Regions from separate parts of the Homo sapiens genome. Here regions 2 and 3 are each linked to region 1. The links are contacts of gene promoters, found by promoter capture Hi-C in human tissues and cell types (Jung and others, 2019). All regions are on one chromosome and are shown on one strand. Each heading gives the region's core, a stretch centred on a gene start or on the middle of the fragment in contact. The rest is flanking DNA. Distances are from core to core; before and after follow the strand shown. Region 1 holds the start of TREX1 (three prime repair exonuclease 1). Region 2 overlaps ZNF589 (zinc finger protein 589). Region 3 overlaps ZNF589 (zinc finger protein 589).

What was found. Contacts are between HindIII fragments. The study calls those that stand out against the background at their distance.
Region 2: a fragment that was not itself captured here is called in contact with the fragment with the promoter of TREX1 in region 1 in 1 of the 25 tissues and cell types used here (pancreas).
Region 3: a contact is called between a fragment that was not itself captured here and the fragment with the promoter of TREX1 in region 1, in 5 of the 25 tissues and cell types used here (IMR-90 fibroblasts, hippocampus, lymphoblastoid cells and 2 more).

Annotation. Positions count from the first base shown.
Region 1 is chr3:48,464,343-48,467,479 of GRCh38, forward strand. It overlaps TREX1 (three prime repair exonuclease 1), which reads left to right and starts at 1,888. Exons shown (of 2, transcript NM_033629.6): 1 at 1,888-1,967; 2 at 2,288-3,137. The coding sequence starts at 2,314. It overlaps ATRIP (ATR interacting protein), which reads left to right. Exons shown (of 13, transcript NM_130384.3): 11 at 240-320; 12 at 489-741; 13 at 1,145-3,137. The coding sequence ends at 1,212. It overlaps ATRIP-TREX1 (ATRIP-TREX1 readthrough), which reads left to right. Exons shown (of 15, transcript NR_153405.1): 12 at 240-320; 13 at 489-741; 14 at 1,145-1,967; 15 at 2,288-3,137. RefSeq lists enhancers at 1,114-1,203, 1,816-2,697, 2,284-2,483, 2,698-3,137. The HindIII fragment of the contact is 7,289 bases long and covers 1-3,137 here.
Region 2 is chr3:48,244,880-48,249,399 of GRCh38, forward strand. ZNF589 (zinc finger protein 589) reads left to right here. Exons shown (of 4, transcript NM_016089.3): 2 at 2,746-2,798. Among named protein-coding and RNA genes, the nearest start is that of ZNF589, 6.0 kb to the left of the region's middle. The HindIII fragment of the contact is 4,289 bases long and covers 412-4,520 here.
Region 3 is chr3:48,269,789-48,274,308 of GRCh38, forward strand. ZNF589 (zinc finger protein 589) reads left to right here. Exons shown (of 4, transcript NM_016089.3): 4 at 1-1,202. Among named protein-coding and RNA genes, the nearest start is that of NME6, 29 kb to the right of the region's middle. The HindIII fragment of the contact is 5,059 bases long and covers 1-4,520 here.

The DNA of each region.
Region 1 (3,137 bases), core at 638-3,137:
ATCCTGTCTTGGCTTTGGGACGTGGGGGCAGAATAGGGGGCTGGAGGCAGGTGGGTTGCTGGTGACACATGAGTGCTTGTCCTGGGTCTTCCCTGGGAAGGTCCCACACCACTTCTTGGACCCCATTTGTGCAGACAAACAGTTGCTGAAGCAAGTGAACTCTTATAGAAGCTTAAGAAAACCCTCGCAGGGACTGGTCTCCTTCTGCCCAGGATGGAACCAATCTGTTCTTGTTCTAGGTGGTGTGGCTCCTGGCTAAGCTTGGTGTGCAGAGCCCCTTGCCCCCAGTCACTGGCTCCAACTGCCAGTGTAATGTGGAGGTGAGTGGGTAGGGGCCAACAGCTGGCAGCTCTGGTGGTAAGGGGGCCCCGTGCAAGGACTGTAGGCCCCACTGCAAACCCCCTCACGTGAGGTGGCTAGGCTGAGCGGATTGTTAGGGTGCAGGCCATGGTGGCACCAGGCCTCAGTCTGCACCCCCCCTCTCTCAGGTGGTCAGAGCGCTCACGGTGATGTTGCACAGACAGTGGCTGACAGTGCGGAGGGCAGGGGGACCCCCAAGGACCGACCAGCAGAGGCGGACAGTGCGCTGTCTGCGGGACACGGTGCTGCTGCTGCACGGCCTATCGCAGAAGGACAAGCTCTTCATGATGCACTGCGTGGAGGTCCTGCATCAGTTTGACCAGGTGATGCCGGGGGTCAGCATGCTCATCCGAGGGCTTCCTGATGTGACGGACTGTGAAGGTAAGCCTGCCAGAGGCCATCCTGCCCAGCCCCCATGGCTTCTTCCAGAGGTTCCCCAACAAGTCAGATTCCTGGGTGTCCCCTCAGCAGGCCCCCGCCCACTGCAGCCTGTTCCAGCACTGGGGCCATTTTCTTTTATCTTCCTGCCTCAGTTCTTCTCCAAGCATATTGGGATGCCTTTTGCATCTATCTGTTGAGTGTGCCTGGCAGAGCCACGGTTTTTCCAGAAATAGCCGTGTCTGAATTGCCTTTGTATCACTTTGTTTGCAGTAGCTGAGGGAGCAGGGCCTGGGTGTGGAAGGGACTGGTTAGTTCCTGCGGACGTTGGGGGAGGAGAGGTGGGACCTGCCCTAGGCCCTGGCACCTTTGGGCCCTCACCAGGAACCTCTCCTTTTTGTCTCAGAGGCAGCCCTGGATGACCTCTGTGCCGCGGAAACCGATGTGGAAGACCCCGAGGTGGAGTGTGGCTGAGGCCCTGAGTGTCCAGCCACATGGTGGCACCAGCACCACTCCTTTCCTTACCACATCAACTGATTAAAGCAGTGACCAGCAGGAACTGCCCAGAGAACTGGCTGGCCTTGTTTCCTGAGTCTGATCTGTTTGGCGGAGTGGGAGGGGTGGAGCAGGACCCGGACCCTGAGTGGCTGGGATCCTTCTTCCTGTCCCTGGCTGTTGCTGAGCCCGTCCCCATGGTAACTGATCTGCCTTGAGGAAGGAGCCCTGCCCTGCCTGTGGAATTGTCCTGAGTCATTGCTTTGGGCTGGGGCCATGGGAAGAAACCATTGTGTGGCAGGGAAGGAGGTGGCTCTTGGCCCAGGCCTAAACCAGGAAAGCCTGGGAAACTGGGACCCACAGGTGGGCATGAAAGGGCCGCAGCAGGGGCTCCCAGCAGTGTGTAAGACCGGGAGCTGGTCTGGCACCACTGCCCTGGTCCTTCCAGCTGCCTGTCACTGGTATGATGGCCCCGGTGCATTGTGCCACCAGCAGGCCACAGCTGTGGATCTTGGAAGGCCTCTGGGGTCCCCCGGGAGCAGGGGAGTGGGTGTGGGGGGGAACGGATGGTGGTGAGAGGGACAGACCAGGCAGGCTGACGAGCAGGGCGGGCCTGGCTCACGTGGGCCTGTAGGCGGGCCCACGCCAAGTTTCACTTCCCGCCACTGCTGCCAGCGAGAGCCGCGGGAGAGTGTGCAGCCGAGTCACTACTGCCTGCCTGCCTGCCTGCTACGGTGAGTGTGGCCCCCACAATGGGATGGCGCAGGGCAGGAGGGCCATGGGTTCCCCCACCCCAGACTAAGGGGGCACTAGGGGAGGGGCCGAGTCATGTGAAGAGGGAGACCCTCTCAGACAGTCGAATGTGCTGGTCCCACTAAGGAAACCACCTCACCCTCTCCAACTTCCTGCCTGAAAATGGGCCCTGGAGCTCGCAGACAGGGCAGGATTGTGCAGGGAAGGCCTGAGATGTGCTTCTGCCCACCCCCTACCCCACTCCCTCCCCTTCGGATCTTAACACTGGGCACTCACACACCCACCCCATGCTCCTCTCCAGGCTCAGCAGCAGGTACGTACCCAACCATGGGCTCGCAGGCCCTGCCCCCGGGGCCCATGCAGACCCTCATCTTTTTCGACATGGAGGCCACTGGCTTGCCCTTCTCCCAGCCCAAGGTCACGGAGCTGTGCCTGCTGGCTGTCCACAGATGTGCCCTGGAGAGCCCCCCCACCTCTCAGGGGCCACCTCCCACAGTTCCTCCACCACCGCGTGTGGTAGACAAGCTCTCCCTGTGTGTGGCTCCGGGGAAGGCCTGCAGCCCTGCAGCCAGCGAGATCACAGGTCTGAGCACAGCTGTGCTGGCAGCGCATGGGCGTCAATGTTTTGATGACAACCTGGCCAACCTGCTCCTAGCCTTCCTGCGGCGCCAGCCACAGCCCTGGTGCCTGGTGGCACACAATGGTGACCGCTACGACTTCCCCCTGCTCCAAGCAGAGCTGGCTATGCTGGGCCTCACCAGTGCTCTGGATGGTGCCTTCTGTGTGGATAGCATCACTGCGCTGAAGGCCCTGGAGCGAGCAAGCAGCCCCTCAGAACACGGCCCAAGGAAGAGCTATAGCCTAGGCAGCATCTACACTCGCCTGTATGGGCAGTCCCCTCCAGACTCGCACACGGCTGAGGGTGATGTCCTGGCCCTGCTCAGCATCTGTCAGTGGAGACCACAGGCCCTGCTGCGGTGGGTGGATGCTCACGCCAGGCCTTTCGGCACCATCAGGCCCATGTATGGGGTCACAGCCTCTGCTAGGACCAAGCCAAGACCATCTGCTGTCACAACCACTGCACACCTGGCCACAACCAGGAACACTAGTCCCAGCCTTGGAGAGAGCAGGGGTACCAAGGATCTTCCTCC
Region 2 (4,520 bases), core at 1,306-3,805, 220 kb before region 1:
TCTCAGCCCACTGGAACCTCCGCCTCCCGGGTTCAAGTGATTCTCCTGCCTCAGCCTCCCGAGAAGCTGGGATTACAGGCATGCGCCACCACACCTGGCTAATTTTTGCGTTTTTGGTAGAGATGGGGTTTCACCATGTTGGCCAGGCTGGTCTCGAACTACTTACCGCCCACCTTGGCCTCCCGAAGTGCTGGGATTATGGGCTTGAGCCACGCCCAGCCATTATAAGCTTATATGTATCTTTTCAGAGACAGGGTTTCCCCGGCTCTGTCACTGAGGCTGGAGTATAATGGTGTGATCTCTCACTTCATTGCAACCTTTGCCTCTGGGGCTCAAATGATCCTGCCACTTCAGCCTCCCAAGTAGCTGGGGCTACAGGTGTACACCACCACGCCCGGCTAATTTTTTTATTTTTTGTAGAGATGGGGTTCACCATTGCCCAGGTTGATCTTGAACTTCTGGGCTCAAGCAATCAGCCCACCTCGGCCACCTAACGTGCTGGGATTACAGGCATGAGGCACCGTGCAGAGCCTGGCCAGCTTCTATGTATCTTATAAACACATATGCCTGGAATAAAGGGTGTCAAGGAGGAAGCTTCAGACTGCTGCTAAGACCCTCGTCCCCCTGAGAGGCACTCCCTTCCCCAGACTCTGTCCCTTCTACAAAGGCACAGGTCACAGGTTAGAAATATGACATCCCAGTTCCTTTTCTGAACTTTCAGAATCAGTGACACCCAAGGATCAGAAAAACATTCTTCTTTCCCCTCAGCAAAGATATGGAAGAGAAGGCTGGGCGCGGTGGCTCACGCCTGTAATCCCAGCATTTGGGAGGCCGAGGCAGGCAGATCACCTGAGGTCAGGAGTTCGAGACCAGCCTGGCCAACATGGTGAAACCCTGTCTCTACCAAAAATACGAAAATTAGCCAGGCATGGTGGCAGGTGCCTGTAATCCCAGCTACTTGGGAGGCTGATGCAGGAGAATTGCTTGAACCCAGGAGGCGGAGGTTGCAGTGAGCTGAGATCGTGCCATTGACCTTCAGCCTGGGTGACAGAGTGAGACTCTGTCTCAAAAAAAAAAAAACAGATATGGCAGGGAAAGCTTGAGCTTCCCTCCAGAGATGTTAAAATCTTACCTTTTAAAATTCCACAATAGGCCAGGCGTCGTGGGTCATGCCTATAATCCCAGCACTTTGAGAGGCCAATGTGGGCAGATCACTTAAGGTCGGGAGTTCGAGACCAGCCTAGCCAGCATGGTGAAACCCCCATCTCTACAAAAAATACAAAAATTAGCTGGGCATGGTGGTGCATGCCTGTAATCCCAGGGAAGTTGAGGTGGGAGGATCACTTGAGCCCAGGAGGTGGAGGTTGTAATGAGCAGAGATTGTGCCACTGCATTCCAGCCTGGGCAATAGTGAGACCCTATCTCAATCAATCAATCAATCAATCAGTTCCACAATAATTTGAAGAGGAATGAGAGTCTGACAAGCTGCGCTTTAGAAATGCTGTTGTAATGGTCTTTAATACTTTTTTCTCCTTTTACTCATGCTCTTTTGTAAAATAAGGAATAACATTGACAAGTTTTTAAAACAATATAATAATTATTATTTTTATTATTAGAGATGTGGGTCTCATTGTCACCCAGGCTGGTCTTGAAGCCGTGGATTCAAGTGATCCTCCCACCTCAGCCTCCCAAAGTGTTAGGATTACAGGCGTGAGCCACTGAAACCGGCCTGACACATTTTTAAAAAATATTTTCATTAAATCACAGACTTCTGTTTCTGTGTTTAACATTTTCTTTTTTTTTTCTTGAGACGGAGTCTCGCTCTGTCGCCCAGGCCGGAGTGCAGTGGTGCGATCTCGGCACACTGCAAGCTCTGCCTCCCGGGTTCATGCCATTCTCCTGCCTCAGCCTCCTGAGTAGCTGGGACTACAGGTGCCCGCCACCACACCCAGCTAATTTTTTGTATTTTCAGTAGAGATGGGGTTTCACTGTGTTAGTCAGGATGGTCTCGATCTCCTGACCTTGTGATCGGCCTGCCTCGGCCTCCCAAAGTGCTAGGATTACAGGCGTGAGCCACCGCGCCTGGCCTAACATTTTCATAAACTATTTTCGAGATGGAGTTTTGCTGTTGCCCAAGCTGGAGTGCAGTGGCGTGATCTCTGCTCACTGCAACCTTCGCCCCCTGGGTTCAAGCGATTCTCCTGCCACAGCCTCCTGAGTAGCTGGGATTATAGGCGTGCACTACCATGCCTGGCTAATTTTTTTATTTTTAGTGGAGTTGGGGTTTCTTTGTCATGTTGGTCAGACTGGCCTCAAACTCCTGACCTCAAGTCATCTGCCTGCCTCGGCCTCCCAAAGTTCTGGTATTATAGGCGTGTGCCACTGTGCTCGGTCCATTTTCATAAATTAAAAAAAAACATGTAACTAGAGTCACATAACACATGGGGGGAAATGATGCCTTGTCTCAACAGTTTTGCTAATTTTTAGGGTAGAAAGATGATGAGTGCTTAGAGTTTACCTTACTACATTTAATTAAGATCAGTGTTTCTGTAAAAATGTAATAGGGAAGTGGTGCAGAGCATAGAGAAGTTGACTCAAGCATAAGGCAGGAGGTGAGAGGAGCTCAGGGTCTGGGTCAGCTGAGAAGGCTCAGGTGGCCACAGCCAAGGCTCAGAGGGCTCTTGGGGATCCTCATGATGGGCCTGGTAGGGCTGGCTTCTCAAGGTTGCTTCTTTCTTTCCCCAGCTCTGCCTGCCAAGGATTCTGCCTGGCCCTGGGAAGAGAAGCCTAGATATCTGGTGAGTTGGGCCCGCCCTTCTCTTTTCTGAAATGCTGGCTCATTTCTCAGAGAATGGGCTCATCTGTCTTTCTTGGGAAGGGAGGAAGTGATTAACATTTAAGTGGTTTATGCCTTGTGTTAGCCATTGTTCTAGGCTTATTATAATGGTTTTTGCACTTAGTCTTTCTATTTTTTGAGCTTATACAAAAACATGACCAAGTTTAATTTTAATTCAGAGTATTCTAAAATATAATGGTAACTTTTTATAAAAACCTTGGGTTATTAAGATCCTAAAATGCACTATTAAAGTTCCCTACATCAACATTTGCACAAATAGTTATAACACTTTAATAGTATCTAATAGTCTGATCTTGTACATTGGACCTCTTTTTCACATTTTGTTTTAGAAAACAAAGATGCAAAAGTAGAAAAAGAGTTAACTCTTCTGTATCCATCATCCCACTTCAGCAGTTATCAACTCATGGCCAATTTTATTTCATCTCCATTCCCACTGGATTAAAGAAAATCCAAGGCATCATACCATTTAATCCATAAATATTTCAGTCCTGTGTTTAAATCATTAACAGCTGTAGGAGATGGGTGGTGACATCCCCATTTTCGAGATGAGATCATCTGGCTTAGAGGGATTACGTGATTTATGCACAGGGACACGTGGATGGCCAAATGGTAGAGTCAGGAATTAAATCCAGATTTCTCTGATCTCAAACCATGAATTTTCTGTGATGCCTTCTTGACTGTTTTTTTCTCCTAGAAAACTACCCAATGATAAAAGAACACACTTTCCAACTCTACGAAATGGGGTTATGTTTTGGATGAAGAGCCTCATAGAGTTCACCCCCTTGTTCTGATGTTGCATATCCCTCTCCCCCAACCCCTGTGATCTTTGCTATACCAGAAATTTAATTTATTGGTTTCTGGGCACAGGACTGTGTGAGATTCTGGGAGCTAGCCAAATAGAGTTGTTAAATTCACTGTCCTTATTCTCAAAGATCCAAGATTCTTTAGGAAATGATGCATAGAGACAGGAAATAATGACACTGGTAATAATTATGATGAAGACAGCTAAAACTGTAAAATAGTACAGGGAAAGACTAAGTGTTAGCCTGTAGCTGTTAAAACAATGCACAGCCACAAAGAATGGTCTTAGGTTTGGATTGATAATCAAATTCATGGTATGCAATGTACTTTAACCCTGCATTAAATTCGCGTAGCTTCATGAAGGGATAGAGTATAGGAGACATAGTAGGCACACCATTCTTCTCAGGAGGTTTTGTACCAGTCTCTAGGGCAGCTTCCAGGCCATAGGGGCCAAGCTTGATTGATACAGATGAGGGTGACTTGGGAGCAAATTACTTCATTATCAGGGAAGCAGCTGCCTTTATCCTTTATTTTCCCGTATTCCCTTCTCTGCCCCAACCTTTTTTTTTCTTTTTTTTTTTTGAGACAGAGTTTCGCTCTTGTCGCCCAGGCTGGAGTGCAATGGCATGATCTCGGCTCACTGCAACCTCCGCCTCCTGGATTCAAGCGATTCTCCTGCCTCAGCCTCCTGAGTAGCTGGGATTACAGGCACGCACCACCACACACAGCTAATTTTTGTATTTTTAGTAGAAACAGGGTTTCACCATGTTAGCCAGGCTGGTCTCGAACTCCTGACCTCAGGTGATCTGCCTGCCTCGGCCTCCCACAGTGCTGGGATTATAGGCATGAGCCACTGCGCCCG
Region 3 (4,520 bases), core at 1,153-3,652, 190 kb before region 1:
GTGGACAGAGCTGTACGTGGACATCATTACTTGTCACGTGTCAGAGGACACACTCGGGAGAAACCTTCATGGAGTGAGAGTAAGGTGTTGGCTGGAAGTGGCCCCTTAAGAGATACTTGGAGTCAAATCTATCCACTGTACGCCCACCCCACTCTTGTTCTAAGAGCTTTGGGGACAGTCTTTTGACCCCTTACATTCCTTTAGATGTGAAGATGACAGAGATCTAACTTCTGAGAGCAGAGGTGTCAAGTGACGGTCCCCTTGGAGGAATGGTCTTTGCATCTGACTACTTCCTTCTGCAACTGTGTTCTTCCATTAGCTTCCATGACACTCTCCTGCTTTATTTTTTTCTACATCTCTAGCCTTTGCTGTTTCCTCTCCTACCCCACCTTTAGATTTTACTCAGAGTTCAGTCTCCAGCCCTACAATCTGAGGGACACCTTTACCAGGTCCCCTTCCTAACCCTCCAGTCCCAAATCCAAGATTCTTTAACCACACTCTAAAAGTTCTTCAGACTCAGGACTTAAACATAGCCACGCCACCTTGGCCTTCAATGACAGGGATCTAGCAATGCTGCATCATCAGCCTTCCAATACCAGGTTTAAGGGTATTTTAAACACAGCTCCTCTTAAATCCTCCAATCTCAGTACCCAGTGTTTTAGCCATGCTCGGGTGGCTAAATTACATCCAGGAATGGTGCCAGGGCCTTTAGCCATTTGTCTCTCCTCACACTCCAGGGCCCATATGGCCCAGGTTCTGACAGTTTGCCTTACTCCCTTGGGCTGGGGCTAGCCCTACCTGATACCCTGTGTCAATGAGTGTACCTTGGAGAGCTATCCACTCAGGCCCCAGTGCCTCTATTTGCTAAGGGACTCTGCCACAGAAAAGAAGGGGAGAGATGTTCATGTAACCTCAAAATACTTAGGCTTGGTTTTGATGCTAGAGAGGAAAAAGGACTTGGAGAGAGAGAAGGAATGGCTGGTCCAGAGGCTTTTGTCCACTCCCTCTCACTGGAAGTGGTTGATCTCCAGGGAATCCCCAAGGTTAGCCTGCTTAGGGGAAGGGCTAGGGGTACCTGGAATGTAGGATCTCCCCCATGCCTGGCCTACCACCCTAATGTGTCTGGAATTGGTGGGTTCTTGGTCTTGCTGACTTCAAGAATGAAGCCGTGGACCCTCACGGTGAGTGTTACAATTCTTAAACATGGTGTGTCTGGAGTTTGTTCCTTCTGATGTTCGGACGTGTCCAGAGTTTCTAACTTCTGGTGGGTTTGTGGTCTCGCTTAGGAGTGAAGCTGCAGACCTTAGCAGTGTTACGGCTCTTAAAGGCAGCGCATCTGGAGTTGTTAGTTCCTTCCGGTGGGTTCGTGGTCTTGCTGGTTTCAGGAGTGAAGCTGCGGACCTTTGCGGTTAGTGTTACAGCTCTTAAAGGCGGCGCGGACCCAAAGAGTGACCAGCAGGAAGATTTATTGTGAAGAGTGAAAAAACAAAGCTTCCACAGCATGGAAGGGGACCTGAGTGGCTTGCCGCTGCTGGCTCGGGTAGCCTGCTTTTATCCCCTTATCCGGCCCCACCCACATCCTGCTGATTGGTCCATTTTACAGAGAGCATATTGGTCCGTTTTGACAGGGTGCTGATTGGTGCATTTACAATCCCTGAGCTAGACACAGAGTGCTGATTGGTGCATTTACAAGCCTCTAGCTAGACAAAAATTTTCCAAGTCCCCACTAGATTAGCTAGACACGCGTTTACAAACCTTTAGCTAGACACAGTGCTGATTGGTGCGTTTACAATCCTTTAGCTAGACACAAGTTCTCCAAGTCCCCGCTAGATTAGCTAGACACAGAGCACTGATTGGTGCGTTTACAAACCTTGAGCTAGACACAGAGTGCTGATTGGTGCATTTACAATCCTCTAGCTAGACATAAAAGTTTTCCAAGTCCCCACCAGGTTAGTTAGATACAGAGTGCTGATTGGTGCATCCACAAACCCCGAGCTAGACAGAGAGTGCTGCTTGGTGCATATACAATCCTCCAGCTAGACAAAAGTTCTCCAAGACCCCACCCAACTCAGGAGCCCAGCTGACTTCCCCTAGTGGATCCCGCACTGGGGCTGTGGGTGGAGCTGCCTGCTAGTCCTGTGCCTCACACCTGCACACCTCAGCCCTTGGGCGGTCGATGGGACGGGCAGCGCCTGTCGGGGAGTCTCGGGCTGCATGCGAGCCCATGGCGGTCGGGGGTGGCTTGGGCATGGCAGGCCGCAGGTCCCAAGCCCTGCCTCATGGGGAGGCGGCTGAGGCCCGGTGAGAATTCAAGTGCGGCGTGGGCAGGCTGTCAGTGCTGGGGGACCCGGTGCACCCTCTGCAGCTGCTGGCCCGGGTGCTAAGCCCCTTAATGCCTGGGGCCTGTGGTGCCGGCCGGCCGCTCCGAGTGTGGGGGCCCCCGAGCCTGCGCCCACCCGGAACTCATGCTGGCCTGCGAGCCCCATGCGCAGCCCTGGTTCCCACCTGCGCCTCTCCCTCCACACCTCTCTGCCAGCCAAGGGAGCTGGCTCCGGCCTCGACCAACCCAGAGAGGGGCTCCCACAGTGCAGCGGCTGGCTAAAGGGCTCCTCAAGCGTGGCCAGAGCGGACGCTGAGGCCGGGGAGGCGCTGAGAGTGAGCGAGGGCTGCTAACACGTTGTCACCTCTCACTATTGCTGCCCCTTTCCCATGGCCTGAGCTAAAAGCCATAGAAAGTGTGTGTATGTGTGTGTGTTTAGGGGTTGCTGGGCAGGGGAAGGGTGGGACACCATCATTCCACAAGACCTCGAAGTTACTCCTCCCATAGAAAAATGAAAGTGGAAAAATTAGTGATCATACATCTACTTTAAACATGAGAGGGAGAAAAAAGTGTTCATTTTCTATTAAAATCCATGTAGGCACTGTCGAGATACCACACAGATCTGGTCCGGCAAGAGGACTGTCAGGTCCAGGCAGTCATAGGAAGAGATTGTAAGCTGCAGTAAATCTGAGTCTCTCTTCAAAGGGTTTAGCCTGCTAACTTCCTTATCCTTGTTCTCAAATTCAACTTTCTTGTTCTTCCTTACCCCTAGTTACTGTAAACAGCCTACCCCATTCTCGTCAGCTTTAATCAATAATTCACATCTGTTCCCTTGGTTACCTGTACCCATTGTTCCCCCGAAACTGCACGCCTCACACTCCACCTCTGTAACTCATGTCCCCCTCCCCTTCTATAGTTAGGAAAATATGTACAAGTGGCCAATTGGGTCAGCTCAGATTGTGCAGTCTGACCCCAGCCCATGGGGGGAGTGACACAGAGATAGGGACTGTGTTAAGGATAAAAATCCCCTGGTCTCCTTTGTTCTCTGTGCTCTTGTGATCTTGATTGACACAAGTGGCACCGTTCCGCAGAAGTAAATTACCTTGCTGAGAGAAATTAAACTTTTGCCTGAGTGCTGGTTTTACTTCATGGCACCGAGCATTTCATCCTAGAGCATTTTATATCCAACAATTCTGGGGGCTCGTCTGGGATTCCCATTCTCCTTCGGGAAGGGGTCTTCAGTCACCCTACCCAGGGGAGACACTTCCCACTGCCCTGTTGCGGTGGCCCTCAGGGATGGGAGATCGAGACCCACCTGTTGTGACGAATAAACCTGGACTCTCAGCAACGCGGGGAAGAGAGACTTGCAATACTGCGGCGACCAGGTAAACTGCACAGACCAAGGTAGAAAACGTCGCAGGGGCAACAAATTACTTCTTTAGTGGTTTTGCGGGGGTCGGGGCATTCTGGAGGTTGAAAGTGCATGAATGGTAACAAGCACTACTGCTGTGCGGAGTGAGACCAATCTGCAGTTCCGTGGTCATCTCATATGGCTTAGGGCGGCCCTTTGGGGGTCCCGTCAGGGGTTTATACTGACCCCCCATGAATGCTAAAAGTGACCTGGAACATTCCCTCAAGGGAAGCGGCCAGAGCGTGAAGGTTGCAGTGAAAGAAGGGTGCAAGGAATCTCCAGCAGGTGGAGCTAAAGGATAGGCGAATTGTGCCTTAGCAAAGCTTCCAGTGAAGGACAGGCAAGAGACCCCTAATACGAGGGGTTGAGCCAGAAGGAACCCCCCAAATAGGCAGGAGATCCCTAATATGAGGGGTTGAGCCACAGAAAGCCCCCACTAGGCAAGAGATTCCTAATACGAGGGATTGAGCCTAGCCAGGACCCAGTATGGTAAATAATACAAGCAAAAAAGATAAAGTTAGCAACAAAGATATACCACTGATAGTCCCCAAGGTCTCAAAGATATACCACCTGATAGCCCCTTAGGTCTCAGGCTAAAAGGTTGGAAAGATAACAAGAGAACTAAACATAAGACAAAGGAACAAATGATAAAATATTGCTGTTCTATTTGGTCTCAAAGACCTATCCTCAGTCCCTCAATCTTCTGGCCAAAGTTTGGGTCGACTAAGGATATACTATATCAACTTTTAATTCAACATGTAAGTAATAAAAGCCCAGTTTCTCAAGAAG